Regions from separate parts of the Homo sapiens genome. Here region 1 is linked to region 2. The links are contacts of gene promoters, found by promoter capture Hi-C in human tissues and cell types (Jung and others, 2019). All regions are on one chromosome and are shown on one strand. Each heading gives the region's core, a stretch centred on a gene start or on the middle of the fragment in contact. The rest is flanking DNA. Distances are from core to core; before and after follow the strand shown. Region 1 overlaps NR6A1 (nuclear receptor subfamily 6 group A member 1). Region 2 holds the start of GAPVD1 (GTPase activating protein and VPS9 domains 1).

What was found. The method cuts DNA at HindIII sites, captures the fragments that hold promoters and counts their contacts. A contact is called where the count stands out against the background at its distance.
Region 1: a contact is called between a fragment that was not itself captured here and the fragment with the promoter of GAPVD1 in region 2, in 1 of the 25 tissues and cell types used here (lymphoblastoid cells).

What each region holds. Positions count from the first base shown.
Region 1 is chr9:124,649,858-124,656,665 of GRCh38, forward strand. The region is part of intron 2 of NR6A1 (nuclear receptor subfamily 6 group A member 1); the gene reads right to left. Among named protein-coding and RNA genes, the nearest start is that of MIR181A2HG, 5.2 kb to the right of the region's middle. The HindIII fragment of the contact is 5,680 bases long and covers 927-6,606 here.
Region 2 is chr9:125,257,612-125,263,739 of GRCh38, forward strand. It overlaps GAPVD1 (GTPase activating protein and VPS9 domains 1), which reads left to right and starts at 4,215. Exons shown (of 28, transcript NM_001282680.3): 1 at 4,215-4,348. It also overlaps the pseudogene RPS10P17. RefSeq lists silencers at 530-788, 4,112-4,293, 4,232-4,361. The HindIII fragment of the contact is 6,614 bases long and covers 869-6,128 here.

The DNA.
Region 1 (6,808 bases), core at 2,517-5,016, 610 kb before region 2:
ATCATTAATCATTGAAGGAATAAAAATCAAAACTACAAGATATTATCTCACCCCATTAAAATGGCTATTATAAAAAAGACTGGTGCTGGTGAGGATGCAGAGAAAAGGGGAACACTTCTACACTGTTGATGGGAATGTAAATTAGTTCACCCATTATGGAAAACAGTATGGAAGTTCCTCAAATAACTAAAAATAGAACTACCATATGATCCAGCAATCCTACTGCTGGCTATATTTCCAAAAGAAAGGAAATCCGTATATCAAAGAGATATCTGCACTCTCATGTTTATTGCACCACTATTCACAACAGCCAAGATATCAGACATGAAATCAACCTAAGGGTCCATCACCAAATGAGCGGATAAATAAAATGTGCATAAGTACACAATGGAGTATTATTCAGCCATAAAAAAGAATAAAATCCCATCATTTGCAGCAACATGGATGGAACTGTTAAGTGAATAAGCTGGGCACCGAAAGACAAATATCACATGTTCCCACTCATACATGGGAGCTTAAAAAAAAACAACTGATCTCATGGAAGTAATGAATAGAATGGTGATCACCAGAGGCTGGGAAGGGTAGAGGGACAGTGGGGGATGAAGAGAGGTTGGTTAATAGGTACAAAAATACAGTTAGAGAGAAGGAATAAGTTCTAGTATTTGATAGCACAGTAGGGCAACTGTGGTTCACAACAATTTACCGCATATTTCAAAATGGATAGAAGAGAGTATTTGGAATGTTCCAAGACAAACAGCTGATAAATGTTGTAGGTGATTTCCCTATTACCCCAATTTGATCATTACACATTGTATGCATGTATCAAAATATCACATGTACCCTATAAATATATACAATTATATATCAATTGAAGTAACAACAACAACAAATAACTTTCCAAAACAGAAAGCAGTAGGCCCAGATGGGCTCACTGGTGAATTCTAGTAAACACTTAAGGAAGAAATTATACCAATTCTCTACCATCTCTTTTTAAACTTGAAACATTCAGGAATAGTCTGTCACTTTAGAAAAAAGTCTGTCCTAAGGGGTATAATCACCACCACCACTCTCCAAACCCTGGCAATGCCCCCAAAAGGCACTGGCAATGCTTTAGTGAAGACTATAAATAGGTAATAGAAAGAAAGGACTTTGGAGACCAAAAAACAAGCAAACAACAATCTGAATTGGGTTACTAGCTCTTTTTGTTTTTCTTTTTGAGACAGAGTCTCACTCTGCTGCCCACACTGGAGTGCAGTGGTTCCATCTCAGCTCACTGCAACCTCCAGCTTCCCAGGCACAAGTGATCCCCCTGCCTCAGCCTCCCAAGTAGCTAGGACTACAAGTGTGTGCCACTATGCCTGGTTAATTTTTGTATTTTTTTTTTAGAGATGGGGTTTTGCCACGTCGCCCAGGCTGGTCTCAAACTGCTGGGCTCAAGTGATCCGTCCACCTCGGCCTCCCAAAGTGCTGGAATTACAGGCATGAGCCACTGCGCCCAGCCACTGGCTCTGTCTTACTAATCTTTTATCTCAGCCAAAAATTGAATTTGATTACTGGCTTTGTCTTATGAACCTTGGAGAAGTTAGTTAACCATGTCACATCTCAATTTCCAAATACTTATGGAAGAGGAAATGACAATACCAACTTAATAAGAATGCTGTAAGAATTCAAAGTAACAATTTTACAAAGTACCTACCATAGGGGTTGGCCCCACAGTGGTTCCCTTCTCCCTTTCTTTTTGCCCAATCTACTTTGCCATCTTTGCCCAGATGATAAAACTGGGGACAAAAATACAAAGTAAAAATACGAAGTTCTACTATATATACGGTTTACACTAAAATAGGCCTCATTACATATCTAAAGAAATTATCCAAAATCCATGGCTTTAATTATACAATCAAAGCATTAACACCGGACTAGTCTCTTTTGCAAAGAAAATATGCATTTTCCTGGCAGCCATAGAGTAATAGTTTAAGATCTGTGCCTCCACCCCAATCCTACCCACACAATTTGATCCTCTTCCCAAGTAGACATTGGCACCTGACCATTTCTGCCTCTCCCAAGAAACAAAGAGGCCCAAAAGCTTGACAGCCAATCTAATTTAAGTCCAAAGGAGAAGAAAACGATGTCCAAGTAACGGCAGAATAAAGGAAAAAAACAAACAAATCTGAGCTAGTTAAAAAAGGAAACCAGCAGAAGACTAACCTCCTGTTTTTTATTGAAAAGCGACTGCATGAAGACTAAAAAACTAGCCCCAACCCCTAAGTCTGGATTGATTTAAAGTGGTGGAGGTAGGTATTCCAGGCAAATCCCTCAATGCACAAGAGTAAAGAAGCAGCTCTATTTCCACACTGTTGGATTTTCATGGGCTTCCTCTGATATAACCTATTATTTCCAAGGCCTAGGAATGTCCCCTCCTCAACTGTCTTATCAGCTTGGGGTTACAACCCAGCTCTAAGGAGAAGGGTATGACTTTTAAAATTAAGGTGTAATGAAGTTTCTCTCCTAATCTCATTACTACCTGGCTGTGTGACTGCTTATGAATCATTTCCTCTCTCTGAGCCTCAATATTACTTCTCTGCAAAATGAGGATAATACTGTTCCCCTGACAGCACTGTTATGAGAATTAATTCAAAAACCAATGTCAAATGTGCCTAGTACAGTGCATGGCTCATAGCAGACAACAACGGGAATTAATTTCCTTCCTTTCCCTTTGACACAGCCTTATCCTCCAAGAAGAAAAAGGGACATCATTCCTTCTTTCCATAAAATTAACTCAGTACCATGACCAGGTCAGAAATGCCAGGGCTGGAGCCAGACTCTAGATACAGCCCTTCCCATATCTGAGCATGAACTCCAAGTCACATTGCAACAGCACACTTTTGAGAGGCCACACACTCACGCAGAAGCTAGGTCTCACACCCAGCTATTACTTTAAAAAGCCAAGATTAGCTCAAGGCTAGGTGAGTAATGAGATGTAAGTGCTCTGGGAATCTGTCCATTCCCAGCATAACTAATGAGTAGCGTCAGTTGTATTCTGCCCCAGAGAGGGACCAACAACTCCAGATGGCCAACAACTCTGAAAAATGCTGAGGCAATGATCAGAGGAAGAATATTTCTGCCCCTTCCTACAGCCTCTGCTTTGGGAAATTTACATTTTGTATAATCATTATTAAAGGTTATTTGTGCTTTTTTTTCCCTTCAGTTTCATTAATAGAGAATCTATATAACATAGTACGAGCAAGAACTTTGGAATCAAGCTCTGGTTCAAGTCTCAGCTCTGCCTCTTCCTTGCTATGTGACACTGGACAAGTCATTTAACCACCAGAGCCTCAGTTTTCTCACCTTTTGTGCTTTCCAAAGTTCTGGCTGCCCCTTCAGTAAGCTGTGAAATCAACTGAGTAGCTTGCAAGTAACTTTTTTTTTTTTTTAGTAAAAAGAAGAAAGTATCAGATGACACTACATGATATTTTACTATGAAAATACTAGATGTCACTTGCCTATAAAATGGGACTATCAGGTGTATGCTGTTATTTTCTGTATTTGTCAGAGGTTTGTTTTGTTGTTGTTTTTTAAGAGACAGAGTCTCTGTCACCATCCTGGAGTATGGTGGCATCATCATAGCTCACTGCAGCCTTGAACTCCTGCACTCAAGTGACCCTCTCTCCTCACCCTCACAAGTAACTAGAACTACAGGCACATATCATCAAGCCAGGCAAATTTATTTTTTGTAGATATGGGGGTCTTACTATGTTGCTAAGGCTGGTCTCGAACTCCTGGCCTCAAGCAATCCTTCCACCATGGCGTCCCAAAGCACTGGCATTACAGGCATGAGCCAAGGCCCCTGGCCTATACTTTTCAGAGTTTTTGAGAAATTGAAAAAATAAAATAATGTAGGTCAAATGTTAGCAATTAACCCTACTAGAGTCAGAATAGCTGAATACAACCTTATTTATGAATAGTAAGAAAGTTCCTCTTCACTTATCAATTTCAGATTTCCAGAAGTATGTCTTCAAGAACATATTATTAACCAAACAGTCAGCCAACATTATGTGCCGAGGACATATGCTTCTAAATTATTGACAAAGAAAGATCAGGTCTAATTAATAACTGAATTTTATCCTAAATTAATACAGAGAATCAGGCTGCAAAACCCTACCCAGGCAACAGTGATGTATGAAAATGCTGGAAGAAGCTCTCGTTGAACAAACCCTCTCTGTTGTGGAAAGGGCAATGAAACCAATGTTAGCCCCAAAATGGTTATAAAAGAAATATGATTCTTCTAGGACACTCAAAGGTGGCCACTGACATGTGAGAACCTTGGCAAGATTCTCAGCTTGGGAGGAACCCCAGTTAAAGATAGTGTCAAGGGGGCCTCAGAGGACTAAACATAGACAAGAACTGCACACAAGGACTTCTTCGGCCTGCAGAACAAGTTACCATTCTGCTTAAAACCTTCCAATGTCCTACTATTTGGGGGGAAAAAAACAAATTTGGGAAAAAATACACTTGGAAAAAACCCAAATTTCTTACTATAGCTTACAAGGTCCTATGTGATAGGGCCCCATCCCACCTCTCCAACATCACCCCTACTTGCATTCACTCCATTTTAGCCATACTACCCTTTTGGCTCCTCAAGCACACTAAGCTCAATCCCACATGAGAGCTCTTGCATTTCTTGTTGCCACTACCCAGTTCATTCTTCTGGCTCTTTGTAGGCTGAGGTTCTTCATGTCATGACTTGGCTCTCAGCTTGCATACTTTGGTTCCTCAGAGAGGCATAGCCCGATACTTCCTCATTCAAGATGTCTCCCAATCCACCACATCCCACCAGTCAGTCATTCTCCATCACCACACTACCCTATTTTCTTCACAGTGTAGCTTCATGTTTCACTTCATAGTACTTTGAGAATTCATTTTTCTGTCTCCCCATTAGAATGTAAGCTCCATAAAAACCTTTGTTTTGTTCCTGATACCTAGATACTGGTTGCTTTTATACATACATTTTTTTTTTTTGTACACACACACACACACACACACACACACACACACACACCTGCCAAACAAACAGAATAAAGAAAACTGATGCATCCATTCCAGGGCCACATCATGTATGTTAGAATTTAACTGCACTTTCAAAATAACATGTGAAAGAGGATTTACCCACAGAAGAGCCTTTGCCAACTGAGTTCAGCAATTAGTTGTTCAGCTAAAGTCCCTATAAAAGGTCCAAGTAACTAACGAGCCAAGCTTTCCTCTGAGCATCCATTCATGAGCCATATCAGAAGGGTATAGTTCCTAATGCCCAATGAAAGAGTATTTAATTTGGAGCCGATGCCTGAGCTAAATTTCATGTTTCCAAACCCACTGATCATCAACTGACTATGAAGTCTGCCTCTAACATAATGGCTCTTGAGTCAAGCGAGAACAAGCAATTTGAACAAAGGTTCAAATCCCAGTTATACATTTTACATCTCTGAGGCCTTTGACAAGTTCCCTCATCTATTAAATGAAGATAACAATATGTATCTGAAAGGACTGTTTTGAAGATTAAATTAGCTAAATGTATTCAAAACATCTGGCACATAAAAACCCAATACAAATTATTATTTACTAATTCACATTTTTTCCAACTAATATTTATTGATATCTACTTCATAATAGGCCCTGTGCCTATACAGAGGCACAAGGCACAACTCAAGAGAAACTGGCCATCGTCCCAGCCCAGGAAGGGCTCACAGTGTAACAGGAAAGATGAACCCATAAATCTTAAGTATAACAGAATTACTAGGAATATAGTATGTATTAGGTGTCATCCAGGAAGGCTGGAAAGAATCTTCCCTTCTCTAGCAAACCTGATGTTAGGGACTAGCTGGTCTCTAGAGTTAAAAGGCCCATCAAAACCCTTACAACTTATAAAGTGAAAAGAGCTTCTGAGATGGGTCAGAACAGCTCTGTAAAGAAGCCCTCACATGATTTTAAGAATAGTCAAGAAAAACTGTCTTGATAGCAAAAAAGTGGAAGCTACTTAAGTGTCCATTGACAGATGAATGGATAAACAAAATGTGGTTGCTACAGTTTGGATGTAATTTGTTTGCTCCCCCCTCATTGAGTCTCATGCTGAAATCTAACCCCTTATGTTGGTGGTGGGGCCTGGTGGGAGGTGTCTGGGTCATGAAGGCAGATCCCTCATGAATGTCTTGGTGCCATTCTTGCAGTAGTCAGTGAGTGCTGGCTCTATAACTCCCTGCAAAAGCTGATGGTTTTAAAGTAGTCTGGCACCTCCTTCTTCTCTCTCTTGCCTCCTCCTCTCCTACCATGTGATCTCTGCACACACCAGCTCCCTTTCACCTTGTGCCATGAATGGAGGCAGCTTGAGGCCCTCACCAGAAGCTGGTGCCATGCTTCTTGTACAGCTTGCAGAACCATGAGCCAAATAAACCTCTTTTCTTTATAAATTACCCAGCCTCAGGTATTCCTTTACAGCAACACTAAAGGGACTAAGACAGTAGTATACACATGCAATGGTATATTATTCAGCCTTAAAACGTAAGGAAATTCTGACATGCGACAACATGCATGAACCTTGAGGACACCATGCTAAGTGAAATAAGCCTGTCAAAAGGGAACACATCTTGTATTATTCCACTTATATGAGGTATCTAGAGTAGTCAAAAAGCAAACAGACAGAGGCTAGGCACGGTGGGCTCATGCCTGTAATTCTAGGATTTTGGGAGGCCAAGGTGGGTGGATCACTTGAGATCACGAGTTCGAGACCAGCCTGGCCAACATGGTGAAACCCCGTGTC
Region 2 (6,128 bases), core at 2,965-5,464:
TGGGAGGCTGAGGTGGGCAGATCACCTGAGGTTGGGAGTTCGAGACCAGCCTGACCAACATGGAGAAACCCCGTCTCTACTAAAAATACAAAATTTGCTGGCGCAGTAGCTCACACCTGTAATCCCAGCACTTTGGGAGGCCGAGGCGGGCAGATCACGAGGTCAGGAGTTCAAGACCAGCCTGGCCAACATAGTGAAACCCTGTCTGAACTAAAAATACAAAAATTAGCCAGGGATGGTGGCGTGCGCTTGTAGTCTCAGCTACTCTGGAGGTTGAGGCAGGAGAATCACTTGAACCTGGGAGGCGGAGGTTATGGTGAGCTGATATCGCGCCATGGCACTCCAGCCTGGGCAACAAGAGCGAAACTCCATAAAAAAAAAAAAAAAAATTAGCCGGGCATGGTGGCCCGAACTGTAATCCCAGCTGTTCGGGAGGCTGAGGCATGAGAATTGCTTGAACCTGGGAGGCGGAGGTTGTGGTAAGCCGAGATCGTGCCATTGTACTCCAGCCTGGGCAATAAGAGCGAAACTCTGTCTCAAAAAAGAAAAAGAAAAAGAAAAATTAGCCAGGCATGGTGGCGTGCACCTGTAATCCCAGCTGAGGATTAGGCATGAGAACTGCTTGATCCCAGGAGGTGGAGGTTGCAGTGAGTTGAGATCATTCCACTGCACTCCAGCCTGGGCAACAGAGTGAGACTCCATCTCAAACAAAACAAAACAAAACAAAACAAAAAACAAACAGGCGAGCCCAGCACAGCGGTGCAAGCCTGTGGTCCCAGGTACTCAGGAAGCTGAGGCATGAGGATCCCTTGAGCCCTCACGATAGCACCTGTGAATAGTTACTGCATTCTAGCCTGGGCAACATAGCAAGACCTATTTCTAAAATAAAAATGTAGACAAATTATTACATTCTAGGCAGTACGCCCAGTGGTGAATAAGATGGAGTCTGCGCCCTCAGGGACTATGTGTTGGTTTAAATTTTCACCTCAAGTTAACATTTGTGATTCAATATAAGTGATGAAGTTTGGGGGCCTTTGAGGGACCTGGGGATAAAGTGTTTTTTTGTCCAGAAATACTTGCCAGAGGCCCCTTAAATCACTTGGCCATAGCATCTGCTTTCTTGGCTTACTTCTAAGACTGGCTGTGTACACATAGAAGGAAAAAGAACATTAAAAAAAATGTTTTGCGATTCTAAGGCAGAGTAGTTTAATAGAGTATGGAGTTGGGAGGCTGAAGAACTAAACTCTACACAAGGTCCAGTATGAATTTTGTGACCATGAACAAGTAACTTCATATCCTTCTATGTCAGGGAAGACTGAGTTGTGTATGGAAAGAAAGGGGCTTTGGACAGAGTTTACTGTGTATTCATCCATTCATTTAAAAAACAAAAAACAAACATTACATTCTAGGCAGTATGCCAGGTTCTAGGGAGACAGTGATCTGCCCTCAGTGAGTACTACTTATTGATTTTGAGCAAATTTTCACCTCTTGAGTTTACTTTCCCATTTGTAAAAGGGATGAAAATAATACCTATTCCATATTTCCCAAGAATCACTGTTGTAGTGATCCATAGTTCTAGCAGGAGATTTGAATTCCTTGAGTGTGCTGACTGGAAAAAAAAAAGAAAATTGCTTGTTAGTTCAAGTTCTTCATTTGTAGGTGACAGAACAGGGCTCAGAAGATTAACTGACCATTCTAGTTCCTTTTTTACTTCTCACATGCAATGCAGCTTCCCTGAAGATTCTTTTGCAACTTTTGGGGCCTCTCCTTCCCTTCCTCCCTGGCCTGGGTGCTCCAGCCTACCCAGACGCAGTGTTCCAGAGCCCACTGTGAATGTGGTTTTGCTAAGGCTGAGTTCTTCCTTAGCAGTCCACGAATGCCATCTCTTGTCTTGAAATCCAGCCATCCAGTAACTCCTAACTGTCACCTCTTCCATAAGGTCATGAACCCTCAACTTGAAAAGGCCATTCTCTCTGAGAATCTCAGAATGCTTTGTACCTTGGCTTATTATGATGATCCTTAATCTGTGGCAGTTTCATCCTACCCTAGATTGTAAATTGTATCCTCTTGCTTATTTCTTTTCTTTTTTTTTTTTTCTTGAGACAGAGTCTCGCTCTGTCGCCCAGGCTGGAGTGCAGTGGCACGATCTCCACTCACTGCAAGCTCCGTCTCCCGGGTTCACGCCATTCTCCTGCCTCAGCCTCCCGTGTAGCTGGGACTACAGGCGCCTGCCACCATGCCCGGCTAATTTTTTGTATTTTTAGTAGAGACAGGTTTCTACCGTGTTAGCCAGGATGGTCTCGATCTCCTGACCTCATGATCCGCCCACCTCGGCCTCCCAAAGTGCTGGGATTACAGGCGTGAGCCACTGCGCCCGGCCTCCTCTTGCTTATTTCATGCCAGCGGTGCATTGAGTAATGTCTTGTAACAGAGCTGATTGAATTCCTGAATGAGTTGAATGGCAGCACGATAGCAATAACATCTGACCAGCCTACCATAGGTGGTTCTATTACTACCTATGTAGTCATAAAACAAGGCAATAAATATGAAGCAATTCTGTCAATGTTGTTGTTGCTGTTTTGTTTTGAGACAGGTTTCACTCTGCTGCCCAGGATGGAGTTCAGTGGCATGATCACAGCTCACTGCAGCCTTGACCTTTTTGGGCTTGGTGATCCTCCCACTTCAGCCTCCCTAGTAGCTGGGACTACAGGTGCAAGCCACCATGCCTCGCTGATTTTTGTATTTTTTGTAGAGTTGGGGTTTCACTATGTTGCTCAGGCTGGTCTTGAACTTCTGGGCTCAAGCAATCCTCCTGCCTTGGCCTCGCAAAGTGCTAGGATTATAGGCATATGCCACCATGCCCCTAAAGGTGACATCAAGAGAGGTGAGTAGATAGAAAGCAGTTTGGGAGTTGATTGACATTTGAAATAGCTGGGGAAATGATTATTACTTTTTTCCTTTTTTTGCCTGGAGACTCCCAGTATTGGAGGATATAATCATTGTTCTCAATTTTTTGAAGATCTGTCAAGTGGAAGACATTCTGTATTGCTCCAGGCAGCCTAACTACCAGCAATGGAAGGAAATAAAGGGAAACAGATTTCAGCTCAGCAGGAGGCAGAACTTTCTAACATTTAGAGCTGTCCAACAGTGGAGCAGGCTGCATTACTTGAGGGAGTGAGCTCCCTGAAATTTGAACTGTTGAACAGGAAGATGACCATCTGGCTGAATGTACAGGAGGGAATTCCTGCCTGGGCAACAGTTGCACTAGTGACCTTTAAGCAGGTATCTTCCAATTTTAAGGTTTCTAGACTGTTCAACTCAGCTAACTTGACCTCTGAATATATGAGTTATGGTGTTACAAAAATTATTAGACAGTTCATTTATTGACTTACCTAAAATAACTGCATGGTGAAGTTTATGATAAGCAAGATTTTAGAAACTGAGAAGTGGGAAGGCAGGTTTTACACTGAAAATCCAGATACCATCCAAACCAATTAATGGCACTTAGAACAAAAGGGAAGGGAGGGGCCGGCAGCGGTGGCTCACGCCTGTAATCCCAGCACTTTGGGAGGCCGAGGCGGGCGGATCACGAGGTCAGGAGATCGAGACCATCCTGGCTAACACGGTGAAACCTCGTCTCTACTAAAAATCAAAAAATTAGCCGGGCGTGGTGGCGGGCGCTTGTAGTTCCAGCTACTTGGGAGGCTGAGGCGGGAGAATGGCGTGAACCCGGGAGGCGGAGCTTGCAGTGAGCCGAGATTGAGCCACTGCACTCCAGCCTGGGCGACAGAGCCAGACTCCGTCTCGAAAAAAAAAAAAAAAGGGAAGGGAGGTTTGTAAGTAGTGTGTGCGTACGTGTGAGAGAGAAACAGAGAAGAGAGAGAGTCATTCATGCGAATAATGTGTCCTGGGCAACTGAGCGTTGTCACAGAAAGCATAAAACGCTCTACATTTTTGCTTTACACATACTTGCTCAGTCGGATTCTTCACGTCCAGCATTACTGCAGGCGGAAACCAGGGCCCAGGCCTGGTGAACAGCCTTCCGGAAGACGATTCCGGACCCGGACACCCACGACAGCCTCAGGGGGCAGCTGACCTAGGGCTGCCTAAGGCGGAAGTGGGAGCCCCTAGCCGCCCGGGCGGAACTACAGCTCCCAGAGGCCCCCGCGGCGCTGCGCACGCGCGCTGGCGTGGCGGCAGCGCCGCTGCAGGACGCAGGGAAGCCAACAGGCGAGTGGCGAAGGTGGCGGCAGCGGCGGCGGGGGCAGTCACCGGCTAGGGCGACGGCTCCGAGGCCGAGTGGCGGTCCGACAGAGTCCTCCGTGTCCTCCCCCGCATGACCCCCTTGGTGAGTACGCGTCCCGATTTAGTCCGCGGGCTGTGAGCGGCTCCCTGCCTCGCGGCCGGGTTGCTCCGGCCTAGGGCCGCAGCCTGTCTCTGACTGCCCGGCCGTCAGGTCCAACTGACCCCGGGGTCCTGGGCTCTTCCCGTCAGTGTCGGGCGAGGTGGGGGTCGGGGGACACTGGGTTAGACCCAGGGGAGAGATGTGGCGGCGCGCAGGAGCCAGGGCGGCCTGGGGCTGAGGAGAGGGAGAGACGCGTGGGGGATGGGATGGGAAGGGACAGGAGGACCGCGGGGCGGCCTCGGGTGGGGGCCAGAGACGAGAGGCCCGGCAGGTAGGGAACTGAGTATAGGAGGCGAGAACGAAATGGAATGTCTTCTGAGTGTCGCTGATAAAGATATCGTGCTGCAGGGAAGCTTGACAAGCTGGACACACGGGTCTGGGGGCAGCCCACCTAACACAGACACTCACTGTACTTGGCATCTTTCCACTTGCTGTCGGAGGTCTGAAAGTGAGGGAGCTGTTGGTTGTTTCCATCCCTTTTCTTTTAACTTCACCTTTTATTGACTGGCAAAATTGTAGTGAGTGCTGGCTAGGCAAACCACAGAAGTACACCCAGGGTTCTGTGTATAAATGTGCATAAAAACAGGGAGACATAGTGATAGGTTCAGATGAGAACTAGGTCAAAGGAGGAATCAGTGTTTTTATTTTTAAATTTATGACGAAAATCAGTTCTGAGCAGGACTTTGAACTAGAGAGGGGTTTTAAACTGGAGTTCATTGATGGATAGAATTAGAAGGGTCCTTTCACTAGAAGGAGGATAAAATGACATCATTATTTTTATTGACTGCTAACTGAAACTTATTATTTCCTTCAGTTACGAATGTGGACAACAAGCCAGAGTAGCATTAGCAGCGCCTATGACTTTGTGATCAATAAAAATTACGGATATTTTTGCATCATGTTTACAGTTGCAGATAGCTCAGAATATCATTTATGGTTAACACTTCTTTGAATTTCTGGTGTTACTAGACCCGCCGTTAGACATTGTTATTTAATGTGATAATAAGGCTGTACATATATTATGACCATATTAGTTTGTTGTTTTGCTAATATTTCCATATAATTGGTTTCCCTTGTAATCACATGTATTTAATTATGCACTTAAAAGAAATCTGAGAAAGGGACCATAGGCTTCACCAAACTGCCAATGAGGTCCGTGCACAAAAAGATTAAGAACTCCTGAAATAATTTGGGAGGCCGAGGCGGGCGGATCATTGAGGTCAAGAGATCGAGACCATCCTGGCCAACATGGTGAAACCCCATCTCTACTAAAAATACAAAAATTAGTTGGGTGTGGTGGCCCATGCCTGTAATCCCAGCTACTTGGGAGGCTGAGGCAAGAGAATCACTTGAGCCCGGGAGGTGGATATTGCAGTGAGCCAAGATCACGCCACTGCACTCCAGCCTGGCAACAGAGCGAGACTCCGTCTCAAAAAACAAAACAAAACAAAAAAACTCCTGAAATAGAAATAAGGTTTTTTGGATTTATAAGTCTACTTAGAAGAACTGTTGTTTTTTTTTTTTTGGTTGTAAGTTTATTCAATGCAAAAGAATCCTCTCCAATTTTACTGAGGTGGCTGACCACGTCCACGACCAAATCCGTCTCAACTGGAATTTGGCTGCTGACCCAGCCCCAGCCTCAGCTTTCTTGTCGGCACTAAGTGGCACAGCACTCCATCTGTAGGTATGTCTGTCAGCACTCCATCTGTAGGTATGTCTGTCA